Linked DNA regions of Homo sapiens: region 2 is linked to region 1. The links are contacts of gene promoters, found by promoter capture Hi-C in human tissues and cell types (Jung and others, 2019). All regions are on one chromosome and are shown on one strand. The core of a region is centred on a gene start or on the middle of the fragment in contact, and the rest is flanking DNA. Distances in the headings are between cores, read along the strand shown. Region 1 holds the start of STAT3 (signal transducer and activator of transcription 3). Region 2 overlaps STAT5B (signal transducer and activator of transcription 5B).

Evidence for each region. Contacts are between HindIII fragments. The study calls those that stand out against the background at their distance.
Region 2: a fragment that was not itself captured here is called in contact with the fragment with the promoter of STAT3 in region 1 in 1 of the 25 tissues and cell types used here (adrenal gland).

Annotation. Positions count from the first base shown.
Region 1 is chr17:42,385,082-42,391,234 of GRCh38, reverse strand. STAT3 (signal transducer and activator of transcription 3) reads left to right here and starts at 2,793. Exons shown (of 24, transcript NM_139276.3): 1 at 2,793-2,956. RefSeq lists an enhancer at 2,073-2,342 and silencers at 2,863-3,142, 3,373-3,452. The HindIII fragment of the contact is 15,490 bases long and covers 1-6,153 here.
Region 2 is chr17:42,207,606-42,213,964 of GRCh38, reverse strand. STAT5B (signal transducer and activator of transcription 5B) reads left to right here. Exons shown (of 19, transcript NM_012448.4): 13 at 1,775-1,981; 14 at 3,468-3,562; 15 at 3,664-3,794; 16 at 6,237-6,359. Among named protein-coding and RNA genes, the nearest start is that of GHDC, 16 kb to the right of the region's middle. The HindIII fragment of the contact is 7,783 bases long and covers 1-5,141 here.

The DNA.
Region 1 (6,153 bases), core at 1,544-4,043:
TTTTTTTTTTTGAGCCAGGGTCTTGCTCTATCGCCTAGGCTGGAGTGCAGTGGAGGGATCTGGGCTCACTGCAACCTCCACCTCCTGGGTTCAAGCAATTCTCCTGCCTTAGCCTCCTGAGTAGTTGGGACTACAGGCACGTGCCACCATGGCTAGCTAATTTTTACTTTTGTTTTGAGATGGAGTTTCGCTCTTGTTGTCCAGGCTAGAATGCAATGGCGCGATCTCGGCTCACTGCAACCTTCACCTCCCGGGTTCAAGAGATTCTCTTCCCTCAGCCTCCCGAGTAGCAGGGATTACAGGTGCAAGCCACCATGACTGGCTGATTTTTGTATTTTTAGTAGAGACAGGGTTTCATCATATTAGTCAGGCTGGTCTCGAACTCCTGACCTCAGGTGATCTGCCCGCCTCAGCCTCCTAAAGTGCTGGGATTACAGGCGTGAGCCACAGTGCCCAGCCTAATTTTTGTATTTTTAGTAGAGACGGGGTTTCACTGTGTTGGCCAGGCTGGTCTTGAACTGACCTTGTGATCCACCCGCCTTGGCCTGAATGTTTATTTATTTAATTTTTAGGATGATGTCCCTGGCAGCCAGTGGAAGAATAGGATAGAATAAGGAGAGAATAATCAGGTGGTTAAGGCAGTGGCCCAAGGGACAGAAATTGCAGCATTTAGCCAAGAGGAATTTGGCGGGGTTGTGGAGAAAGGCCAGTGTCTGGGCTGAAGAGAATTTTTGCAGGTCAAACCCATAGTCGCAGAGGTAGATTTTATGTGTTACTGGTGGGGAGGCCAATGAGGGAAACAGAGGCCAGCTCTTGAGAAGTCAGAAGCAGGGCAGGGTTTGAATGAATGGAACAAAGCTATGGGACGTAAAGCCCCCAAACCTGACTCTGAACCTGGTATATTTCTGAGTTTCTCTGTGATCTTGAAAATGTCATATTATGTTGTCTTTAGTTTTCTATCAGCGGATAATATGGCCTCTCCTATCTGCTATTCATGATTGTGAGAAAGAAACCAGGCAGGGAGTGTATAAGGTGTGTAAGTCCTTTGTAAGCAGTAAATCACTAAACAAATCCTAGACCCTATGTTATCAGGGAGGCAGTTGGCCGCACGGGATAGCGTAGTTACAAGAGACTATAGGCGGAGATGGGGGATATCTGTCCTGTGGTGTAGATAAACAGCCTAATCAATACACACACACTCTACAGGTAAATACAGCAATTTCCATACTGAGCTGTGTCTACCAGAGGGCAATAGGAGGTTCTCAATTCTCACCACCAGTGACCCTATGAATTGCCCTGTAGATGCCTCTGTCCCTCATTGGATATGAGGTGGTACGAGCGGTCTGAATCTGTAGACTTAGACAGGCTTCAGGTATCTGGGGAACCATGTGAGTAAAACCTTGTATTGTTTCTGGGGCTAGAATCTAGTCTCCTTCAAACACTCAGAAGGATCTGTGACTGCCTTCAAAGGTTAAGAGTCATTGATTTTTCTCACTAGAAATTAATAAGAACAGCTATCCTTGGGGAGAAGGAATGATGGGGGTAGGGAAAGATTTTCATTTAATATTTTTGACCTTTCTGAACGGTCTGCATTTTCTAAACAGGAACATGTATTAGGTTCATTGAAAAAAAATATGTCAGGGGTTAGCTGAGCAGTGAGATAATGGGTCCTTTTTAGATTTTTGTCTTTATACCTGTTCGTATTAAACAAACACAAATATTAATAACATATTTTTAAAGACCCAAAAAAATAAAAATTAAAAACCCTGATAGTATCAGCACATACACAGAAATCACTCCATTATGCAAAGTTCATCCTCTATTATGAAAGGCAAAATGTCTACATTTCCTATCAACCACTGGCTTCAATTCAGTAAAACTTGCATACCAAGTAGGCAAGGTGGAAAAGAAAAAGGCAGAACATTTCATGTATTTCAATTCAGACGCATAAAAATGTCAAGCCCTACACGTTATCAGCTTTCGTATACACCGTCTTCTGCATTCGCCTGTACGGGCCAATGGGCTAGCTGGTCGGCGTTTGATGCTTGAAGTGATGGAACGGAGTACGGGGTTAAATCCACTACCCTCTCCCCACGCACTCTAGTAATTACTCTATTTCCACGTCATGTTTCCGGGTGTGTGTGTCCCTGCTCACGCAGAAACTGAAGTTCAAAGCAGGCGGAGTCACCCATGTTCTTTTTGTTGTCCCCAGAACCCAATTCAGGAGTTGGGTCCCCAGAGGATCTGGAGATACCTGGGGACTATCTAACTAGCTGATTCCCGCGTGGTAAGAGGCTCTCAACCTCGCCACCACGTGGTGCCAAGGGCCGGGAAAAGGGAGAGCGGGCAGGAGGGAGCTGTATCAGGGGCATTTAAAGTGCCTTGACGTCACGCACTGCCAGGAACTCAGCTGAGTTTTCAGCAGGACATTCCGGTCATCTTCCCTCCCTCCCCCCGGGCTTCTGTGCCCAAGTCCTCGGCTCTTCCCTCGCTGTGGCGGAGGGAGGAGCACCGAACTGTCGGAACAGCCAGCACAGGGGCGTATCAGTCTCCTCTTGGCTCCGCCCTTTCTCCTAGCTGCTCTCCTCATTGGTCAGTGGGCGGGGCTTCGGCTGTACCGCACACGCACTGGGACCTCTGGGTGGCCGAACGAGCTGGCCTTTCATGAATTATGCATGACGGCGTGCCTCGGCCAGGCTGGGGCTGGGCGAGGATTGGCTGAAGGGGCTGTAATTCAGCGGTTTCCGGAGCTGCGGCGGCGCAGACTGGGAGGGGGAGCCGGGGGTTCCGACGTCGCAGCCGAGGGAACAAGCCCCAACCGGATCCTGGACAGGCACCCCGGCTTGGCGCTGTCTCTCCCCCTCGGCTCGGAGAGGCCCTTCGGCCTGAGGGAGCCTCGCCGCCCGTCCCCGGCACACGCGCAGCCCCGGCCTCTCGGCCTCTGCCGGAGAAACAGGTGAAGGGGGTGCAGGGTGGGGCCGTTGGGGAGGCCTGGGGACCCGGGGGCTCCGCAGCGGCAGGGGGCCTCTGGGACCTTGGGGATGTTGTGATGGACGCTGCAGTGGGGCCGGGAGAGATGAAGAGACGCGGAGGGTCGCCCTGAGGGAAGACTCTTCGGGATGACAGGAGCGGGCCTCGGAAGGGACTCGGGGCGCTGGAGGGAAGTTTCGTTCTTCGGAGAAACAGAACGCGCTCGAGGGGGCACCGTGGGGCGAGGGCGCACTCGGTTGCGGCGGCAGGAGTGAGGGACAGTCCCCCGATTTCCTGCTCCCTGGGGCCCTGGGGACGTTCCGGCCACCGGAGCGACTGTCACGCCGACGGGGATCACCGGCGCGAGTGGGGGGTCGGAAAGCGCCTCCTCCCCGCCCGGTCGGCGGCTCCCGCTGAGCCACTTCCTCCGCTTGCCCTGTTCCCGCTCCTTCAGGAGACAGCTGTGCCCTTTTGGAGGCAGGAATAGGTGTGTCTGTCGCCTGCAGCCTTACGGGCTGGCTGGTCGTGGGTAGGCTTTATTGCATAAGAATCAAGTTTCCTGTAGGGAAATTGACAGACCGGTACTCTTTCTAAATTCCCTCGCATCTTTTTCTAGGTTAAATTATGCTCCCCCCACGTCCCCGCCTTGTAAAAAAGAGAAAAAAAGACAAAATAAAATCCCCATCAACCCGTCAAGCCAGCTCTAGAGAGAGAAATAAACCTCTTGACATTGTCCTTTTCCAAATACCTGGTAAAGTCGGCCAGAAGATAAATAATTGAGCCATTGCATTTACTGGATTGTGGTGTTGCTTAATTGCATAGGACGGAATGAACCAATTGAGAGTGGGAGTTTTCTGTCTCAGAGCCAAGATCTTGGGTAAATGCAGAGGAGAGGGAAACAAAGACAGGCTGGCCTTGAAAAAACCATGTGTGCAAACTTTACATGCATTTGGGGGGTGTGGTTGCACTGAAGTTAACAAGATTCAAACCGTCGCCCAAGTTGGTATTTCCATGTTTGGTACACATCACTCTGTGCCATATCAGGTCGTTGTTAAGTGTGGTGACAAAATCAGTGGTTAGTCATTTTTTTAATTAAAAATGTGTATAGTGTGTACCTGCTGGTCTTACTGTATGTGCAACTAAAGGTTTACATAGTCTGTGTATGGGTTGTAAATTTTTGGCTGGCTGTGCTGATAAAGCATTGGGCTTGAATAAAGCAAAGCAGAAAATCATCTCAATCTTTTATATGTGGATTTAGACTGTGTTATGACTTGGTTCAGCCAGTTTTCTATCTTATTTTATATTAAATATGTCTGTGTTCTCTGAGTCAGCACATTTATTTCCTTATTACATGTTCCAGACAGGAGTGCTAGCCCAGTTTTTGTTCAGTTTGCACAGTGGGATGGGGAAACAAGTCTGGAATTTAAAAAAAAATGTTTTAGAGGTTGGAGCCTTGATTTTAGTCTCTATATTAGCACATCCATCACAAAGAACCATTAGTAAATTCATGAATCTTTTGTTTTTTATGTAGTTCATTTGAGAAGAATAATCACTTAGAAATATCCACAGTGCCAGGCATGGTGGTGCACACCTCTGATCCCAGCTAATTGAAGGCTGAGGTGGGAGGATTCCTTGAGTCCAGGAGTTGAGTCTGGTCTGGGCAACATGGTGAGAGGCCAGGAATTGGGTCTAGAGTCTAGTCTAAGCACCATAATGAGAACCCATCTTTAAGAAAGAAAGAAAGGAAAGGAGGAAGAAAGGAAAGAAAAAGAAATACCCACAGCACAGTTATGAATTAACCCACAAAGGACTTGTGAGGTGGGTAGTTCACATAACAATTACCCTAATATCGTAGATAAGAAAATTGAGGCCAAAGGATCAAGACACTTGGCCAACGCAGCAGAGTGCCATAGTGGTGGAATTTGTGCCTCCTTCTGTATATTTTGTGAAAAGTATCAGTGAAATTCTTTTTTTTTTTTTTTTTGAGTCAGAGTCTTGCTCTGTTGCCCAGGCTAGAGTGCAGTGGCGCAATCTTGGCTCACTGCAACCTCTGCCTCCTGGGTTCAAGCGATTCTCCTGCCTCAGCCTCCCAAGTAGCTGGGACTACAGGCGTGCGCCACCACGCCCAGCTAATTTTTGTATTTTTAGTAGAGACCGGGGTTTTACCATATTGGCCAGGCTGGTCTTGAACTCCTGACCTTGTGATTTGCCCACCTCTATCTCCCAAAGTGCTGGGATTACAGGTGTGAGCCACCGCGCCCAGTAAGTATCAGTGAAATTCTAACATATATCTGAACAGTAAAATACCACCAATAGGCTGAAAGACTTCATGGGAGGTAAATATTCAATAAACAGGTGAAAAAAGAAATACAAATGGAGCTTGCTTAGATTATTTTTCTAATTGCTATGTCTAACTTGGGAAGTGAGGAACTGTTTTTGGTCAGCATAATTTACCATCAGAATTTAGCTATTTACTAATGAAAAGAAATACTAATCTAGGTTTGTTTTAGATTAAGGACAGTCATGACCTAAATGTCATTTAAACCAGAGTGCATTGTGGCTTGATCAGTGGTCATTTCTGTCTCTAGAAAGTTGCTTTAACTTCTCTGCCTCTACGTGTCTCTTGACATTCAGATATGAGGTGGGGTAGAGGTGGTGACCAACTTTCCAGACGCCTGAGTCCAAACCTTCTTAGCTTATGGTTTTCTTAGGTGATGTGCAAATCAACAAATATATACTTTTTTTTTTTTTTTTTTGAGTTGGAGTTGCACTCTATCACCCAGGCTGGAGTGCAGTGGCATGATCGTGGCTCACTGCAACCTCCTCCTCCCGGGTTCAAGTGATTCTCGCACCTCAGCCTCCTGAGTAGCTGGGATTACAGGTGCCCGCCACTACGCCCGGCTAATTTTTGTATTTTTAGTAGAGATAAGGTTTCACTATATTGACCAGGCTGGTCTCAAACTCCTGACCTCAAGAGATCTGCCCACCTCAGCCTCCCAAAGTGCTGGGATTACAGGCGTGAACCACCTTGCCTGGCCAACATATATATACCTTTTGCAACTTTGTCAGAGTTGCTATGAAGAATAAGTTGTATCTTGTTCACAGAAATTGCAGTCTACTGGGGGAGCTGATAAATGTTTTAACCATCCAATGTAACATGTTGTCATCAAAGAGATGGTGAGA
Region 2 (6,359 bases), core at 1-2,500, 180 kb after region 1:
TCACCATGTTGGCCAGGCTGGTCTCGAATTCTTGACCTCAAGTGATCCACCCACCTCGGCCTCCCAAAGTGCTGGGATTATAGGCATGAGCCACTGCACCCAGCCGACCTTATGCTATGTTAAAAAAAAGACTTTCAGCTGGGCACGGTGGCTCACACCTGTAATCCCAGCACTTTGGGAGGCCGAGGTGGGTGGATCATTTGAGGTCAGGAATTCGAGACCAGCTTGGCCAACATGGTGAGACTCTCATCTCTACTAAAAATACAAAAATTAGCTGGGCGTGGTGGTGCGTGCCTATGATCCCAGCTACTCGGGAGGCTGAGGCAGGAGAATTGCTTGAACCTGGGAGGCAGAGGTTGTAGTGACCTGAGATGGTGCCACTGCACTCCAGCCTGGGCAACACAGTGAGACTCTGTCTCAAAAAAATAAAAAATAAAAAATAAATAATAAAGACTTGTGGCCAGGCACAGTGGTTTATGCCTGCAATCCCAGCACTTTGGGAGGCCAAGGCAAGCGGATCTCTTGAGCCCAGGAATTTGAGGCCAGCCTTGTCAACATAGCAAAACCCTGTCTCTACAAAAAACACACAAATTAGCCAGGCATGGTGGTGCACGCCTGTAGTCCCAGCTGTTTGGGAGGCTGAGGTAGGATAATTACTTGAGCTAAGGAGGCAGAAGTTGCAATGAGCCAAGATTGGGCCACTGTACTCCAGCCTGGATGACAGAGCGAGACCTTACCTAAAAAAAAAAATAATTGTGGAAATTTATTCTCCATATATATTTGCCTATGTGTCCTGTGGGTCAAATAACATAAGAACATTGCAGCATTGTTAGTAATAGCTAAAGATGAGGCTGTAACACTGATGCCCATCTATGGGGGTCTGGTGAAATTTCTTTATGTGCTGATGGGAGGTCTCCCAGATAGAGGATTAAGTGAAAAGAGGAAGATGCAGAACATGTGGATTTTGTGCTGTCATTTGTGAAGAAAAGGAAAAGGTATATGTCATTGCTGGCATGCATAGAATATCTTTGGTGGGATACACAAGAAACTGTGTTAGGTGCCTTTAAAGAAAAGAACTGGGTTGCTGGGAGACAGGGATAGGGAGTGACTTCACTGTGTAGCCGTCTGTGCTTTTTGAATTTTAAATCATGTGAAAATCACCTATTGAAAAAAGTGTTTGTAACAAAATAAAATGGAGTACTATGGCTGAACGGGTTGAAAAGCAGTTTATTAAAAGTTAATCTTCTAACCTATTTCTCAATAAAGCCATCCAACTCAAAATTTCCACTCTTCCATACCAAGTTGTTTTACTTTGAGCTAGAATTCTTGGCAGAAGGAGTCGAGGGCAATGATTCCACGTGTGTACACACATGCCGACACGTGTGCACACATACGCACACTCTCTCTGTTTGTACCTAGAGGACCAGTCTTTCAGATTTCTAAATTCCCAAGGTGTTTACAATCTAAGAGCCAGACCTTGGTTATGTTTTGGTTTGTGGCCGTTAGAACATAGGATTTGACTGTTAGTTCAGCAGCTCATTTACAAAACAGCATGGATAGCATGGGTTACCTTCTAGTTGTGTGTAAAGAAGGTGAAACGGAACCTTCTGAATTTCACAGAACCGTGTACCCCAGCAGAGTCTGAATTTATCCTCAGGCCCTGCAAGACAAATGTGTGTAACCACTCCCAGCCATCAGCGTTTTTCTTTTGTGGCTTGAGGGAATAAATCATGCAACTGTTTTCTCATCAGATTCTGGCCTCTCTCCCTCTCAGGGCAGGGTGCCATTTGCCGTGCCTGACAAAGTGCTGTGGCCACAGCTGTGTGAGGCGCTCAACATGAAATTCAAGGCCGAAGTGCAGAGCAACCGGGGCCTGACCAAGGAGAACCTCGTGTTCCTGGCGCAGAAACTGTTCAACAACAGCAGCAGCCACCTGGAGGACTACAGTGGCCTGTCTGTGTCCTGGTCCCAGTTCAACAGGGTGAGGAGCCCAGCTGCCAGCCGCTGTTAGATCAGTCCTTCCCAACCAGATGCTCTCAGGAGTCTCCCTGCCCTGGGCCCTTATTCTTCATGTCTCTAATAAAATGTACCGAAAGTAATAGAAGCTTCTGACTAGATGGACAACTTGAGAGTTACCCAGGTCACGTGTAGAAAATTACATCTTTGCATATTTTAAATAAGTTGACCTTTGTCTACAGTTAATGCATTTTCTTCCTTTGTAAAGGAAATAGAGCAAAGCAGATGTTAACATAGCTCATGAGAAGCAAAGCTTTTGAGGGGATGCGAACTCTGGGCCTCTCTCCCCTTTACTCTCTTATGTTCCCCATGTGTAATGCCAGATCAGGCTCCTATGGGACCCTCAACCCACAAAGAGGGATGCTGATGAAAGAAACTCCTCCTCTAGCATCTGCTAATTCAGACGTCACTTTGATTTTATTTTTATTCATTTTTTTTTTTTGAGACAGAGTTTCGCTCTTGTTGCCCAGGCTGGACTGCAATGGCACGATCTTGGCTCACCGCAACCGCCGCCTCCTGGTTTCAAGCGATTCTCCTGCCTCAGCCTCCCGAGTAGCTGGGATTACAGGCATGCGGCACCACGCCCCGCAATTTTGTATTTTTAGTGGAGACGGGGTTTCTCCATGTTGGTCAGGCTGGTCTCGAACTCCCGACCTCAGGTGATCTGCCCGCCTCGGCCTCCCAAAGTGCTGGGATTACAGGCGTGAGTCCACTGTGCCCACCCTATTTATTTTTGTTTATTTATTTATTTTTGAGATGGTGTCTCGCTCTGTCACAAGGAGTGCAGTGGTACATTCTGGGCTCACTGCAACCTCCGTCTCCCAGATTCAAGTGATTCTCCTGTCTCAGCCTCCTGAGTAGCCGGGATTACAGGCACCCGCCACCATGTCCAGCCAATTTTTGTATTTTTAGTAGAGACGGGGTTTCACCATGTTGGCCAGGATGGTCTCAAACTCCTGACCTCAAGTGATCTGCCTACCTCAGCCTCCCAAAGTGCTGGGATTACAGACGTGAGCCACCATGCCCGGCTATCACCTTGATTTGAATTTAATTTTTGTTTCTTTTCCTACACCCCCCACCCCCAAGGTGTTTTAAATGTTTAATTTGGAGCCTAACAACGTGCATTTCTCAGAAGCTCCCAGGTGACACTGATGCTTCTGGTCACAGACCACACATCGAAACTAGCAAGGGACGGGTCAGCCCAGTCCCAGGTGAAAGTGTCTGTAGCAGGAGCCCACTGGGTGCTGGTAACTGCAGTTTGGTATTTTCCCCTTCTTCCCTCTTTTCCTCTCCATGGGGCCATTAGGTAAAACTCAGGTAGGCGGGGATATTTGTATGCCTCTGACAAGGGTAGATGTTTGTTTCCCATTTAATTTTTCCAATTAAATATGTGTATAATATTCCAAGTGTTACTCTGGTGTTCTTATGTTCACTGTTGTATCTCCAACCAGGAGAATTTACCAGGACGGAATTACACTTTCTGGCAATGGTTTGACGGTGTGATGGAAGTGTTAAAAAAACATCTCAAGCCTCATTGGAATGATGGGTGAGAATCATTATTTCTTAAGGCGCCGACAGAGTCTGAAGGTCTTCTCTCTGGCATCGTAAGTCACACTCTGCTTCTGTCCTTTGTCCTTGGTGATCCAGGGCCATTTTGGGGTTTGTAAACAAGCAACAGGCCCATGACCTACTCATTAACAAGCCAGATGGGACCTTCCTCCTGAGATTCAGTGACTCAGAAATTGGCGGCATCACCATTGCTTGGAAGTTTGATTCTCGTGAGTGCCCCTCCCTTCTTATGTCCAAAGTTAGCTGCTTTCGTTACAAAATTATTTTAACAAATAATTTAGTGGGTACTTACTATTTGTTGAGGTCAGTACTAATTATGGGAAACATAAATGTATAGCCATGACATACTCATAATAAGGCAGCCTATGAAAAATACTATTATGGGAAACACAATTGCTAATTTGGTTATACATGAAAGTATATGGCAGCATGGTTACACATGAACATTTAACCATGACATGGCTACCTATGATACAAGAGTCCGTGCAGAATCTCAGTTGCTTCCCTCTTAAAATGTTTGCCTTATTGTACTACTCTGCATAAAGCTTATTTCAGTGAAGAATTTGATGATTTGGAGTTCTTACAGTAGTAAAAATATTCCTTTATCCTAATTAACATATGGATATTGCCATCAACCATTTCTACCCAAGATGTTAGTTCTTTTCTTTTTTTGAAACAGGGTCTCACTCTTTTGCCCGGGCTGGAGTGCAGCGGCACAAACATGGCTCACTGCAGCCTTGACCTCCTGGCCTCAAGCAGTCCTCCTCCCTTAGCCTCCCGATTAGCTGGGACCACAGACGTGCACCACCACACCCATCTAATTTTTAAATTTTTTGTATGTTGCCCAGGCTGGTCTCGAACTCCTGGGCTCAAACAATCCCCCACTTTGGCTTCCCAAAGTATTGGGATTACGGGCTTGAGCCACTGCACCAGGGCATCAGGAAAGTTAGTTCTCTCCTCTGACCCTCACAATAAGGGTAGCTTGCTGGTTCATTTTCTGTGAATTAAAGTTTTTAATAACTTTTGGCTGGGTGCGGTGGCTCATGCCTGTAATCCCAGCACTTTGGGAGCCTCAGGCAGGAGGATCTCTTGAGGCCAGGAGTTCAAGCCCAGCTTGGGCAACATAGTAAGACCCTGTCTCTAAGTAAATAAATAAATAAATAAGTTAATTAGGTGGGCATGGTGGTGCTCATGGTGTGCGCCTGTAGTCCCAGCTACTCTGGAGGGTGAGGTGGGATGATCACTTGACCCTGGGAGTTCAAGGTTACAGTGAGTCATGATCACATCACTGTACTCCAGCCTGGGCAACAGAGTAAGACCCTGTCTCTTAAAAGAAAAAAAAAAAAAGGCTGGGTGCGGTGGCTCACGCCTGTAATCCCAGCACTTTGGGAGGCCAAGGCAGGCGGATCATGAGGTCAGGAGATCGAGACCATCCTGGCCATCACAGTGAAACCCCCGTCTCTACTAAAAACACAAAAAAATTAGCCGGGTGTAGTTGTGGGCACCTGTAGTCCCAGCTACTTGGGAGGCTGAGGCAGGAGAATGGCGTGAACCCGGGAGGCGGAGCTTGCAGTGAGCCGAGATCGCGCCACTGCACTCCAGCCTGGGCAACAGAGCAAGACTCCATCTCGAAAAAAAAAAAATTCATCACTTTTAATAGCTCTTATGCTTTCTCTGGTTGTGGGCATGCTTCCTAGCTTTTATATATCTTTGTATGGGAAATCAGGGATTGGGGGCCAGTAAAAACTGTTTCTTCTACTGAGGGCTAGAATACTGTTTGAACTTGAAACGTCTGAGATCATTGGATCTCTTGGGAAGTGATTTTTGTATTACCTGCTTATCTACCCATGGCTTTTATTTTTATTTATTTATTTATTTATTTATTTTTGAGATGGGGTCTCTGTCACCCAGGCTGGAGTGCAGTGTCATGATCTCAGCTCACTGCAACCTCCACCTCCCAGCTTCAAGCCATTCTCCTACCTCAGCATAGTACCTGGGACTACGGATGAGTGCCACCACACTTGGCTGATTTTTGTATTTTTAGTAGAGACAGGGTTCATCATGTTAGCCAGGCTGGTCTTGAACTCCTGACCTCAGGTGATCCACCTGCCTAGGCCTCCAAAAGTGTGGGATTACAGGCATGAGCCAACATGCCTGGCCCCTACCCATGGCTTTTAAAACTATTTCAGGCCGGGCACGGTGGCTCACGCCTGTAATCCCAGCACTTTGGGAGGCTGAGGTGGGTGGATCATGAGGTCAGGAGATCAAGACCATCCTGGCTGACATAGGGAAACTCCATCTCTACTAAAAATACAAAATTAGCCAGGTGTGGTGGCGCGTGCCTGTAATCCCAGCTACTTGGGAGGCTGAGGCAGGAGAATCGCTTGAACCAGGGAGTTGGAGGTTGCAGTGAGCCAAGATCGCACCACTGCACTCCAACCTGGTAACAGAGTGAGACTCCGTCTCAAAATAAGTAAGTAAGTAAGTAAATAAATAAAAGTATTTCATCTATAACCCATGGTTATTTTTAAATGGAGATTTCTATTGGAGCCATTATAATGGCAAGCTTGAATTTATAGTATGTTGGGGTTTTAAGATTTCCTAATTCAGAAATCATGTTTAGAATGTGATTGTTCTGTTTATTGATCTAGAGGAAAGAATGTTTTGGAATCTGATGCCTTTTACCACCAGAGACTTCTCCATTCGGTCCCTAGCCGACCGCTTGGGAGACTTGAATTACCTTATCTACGTGTTTCCTGATCGGCCAAAAGATG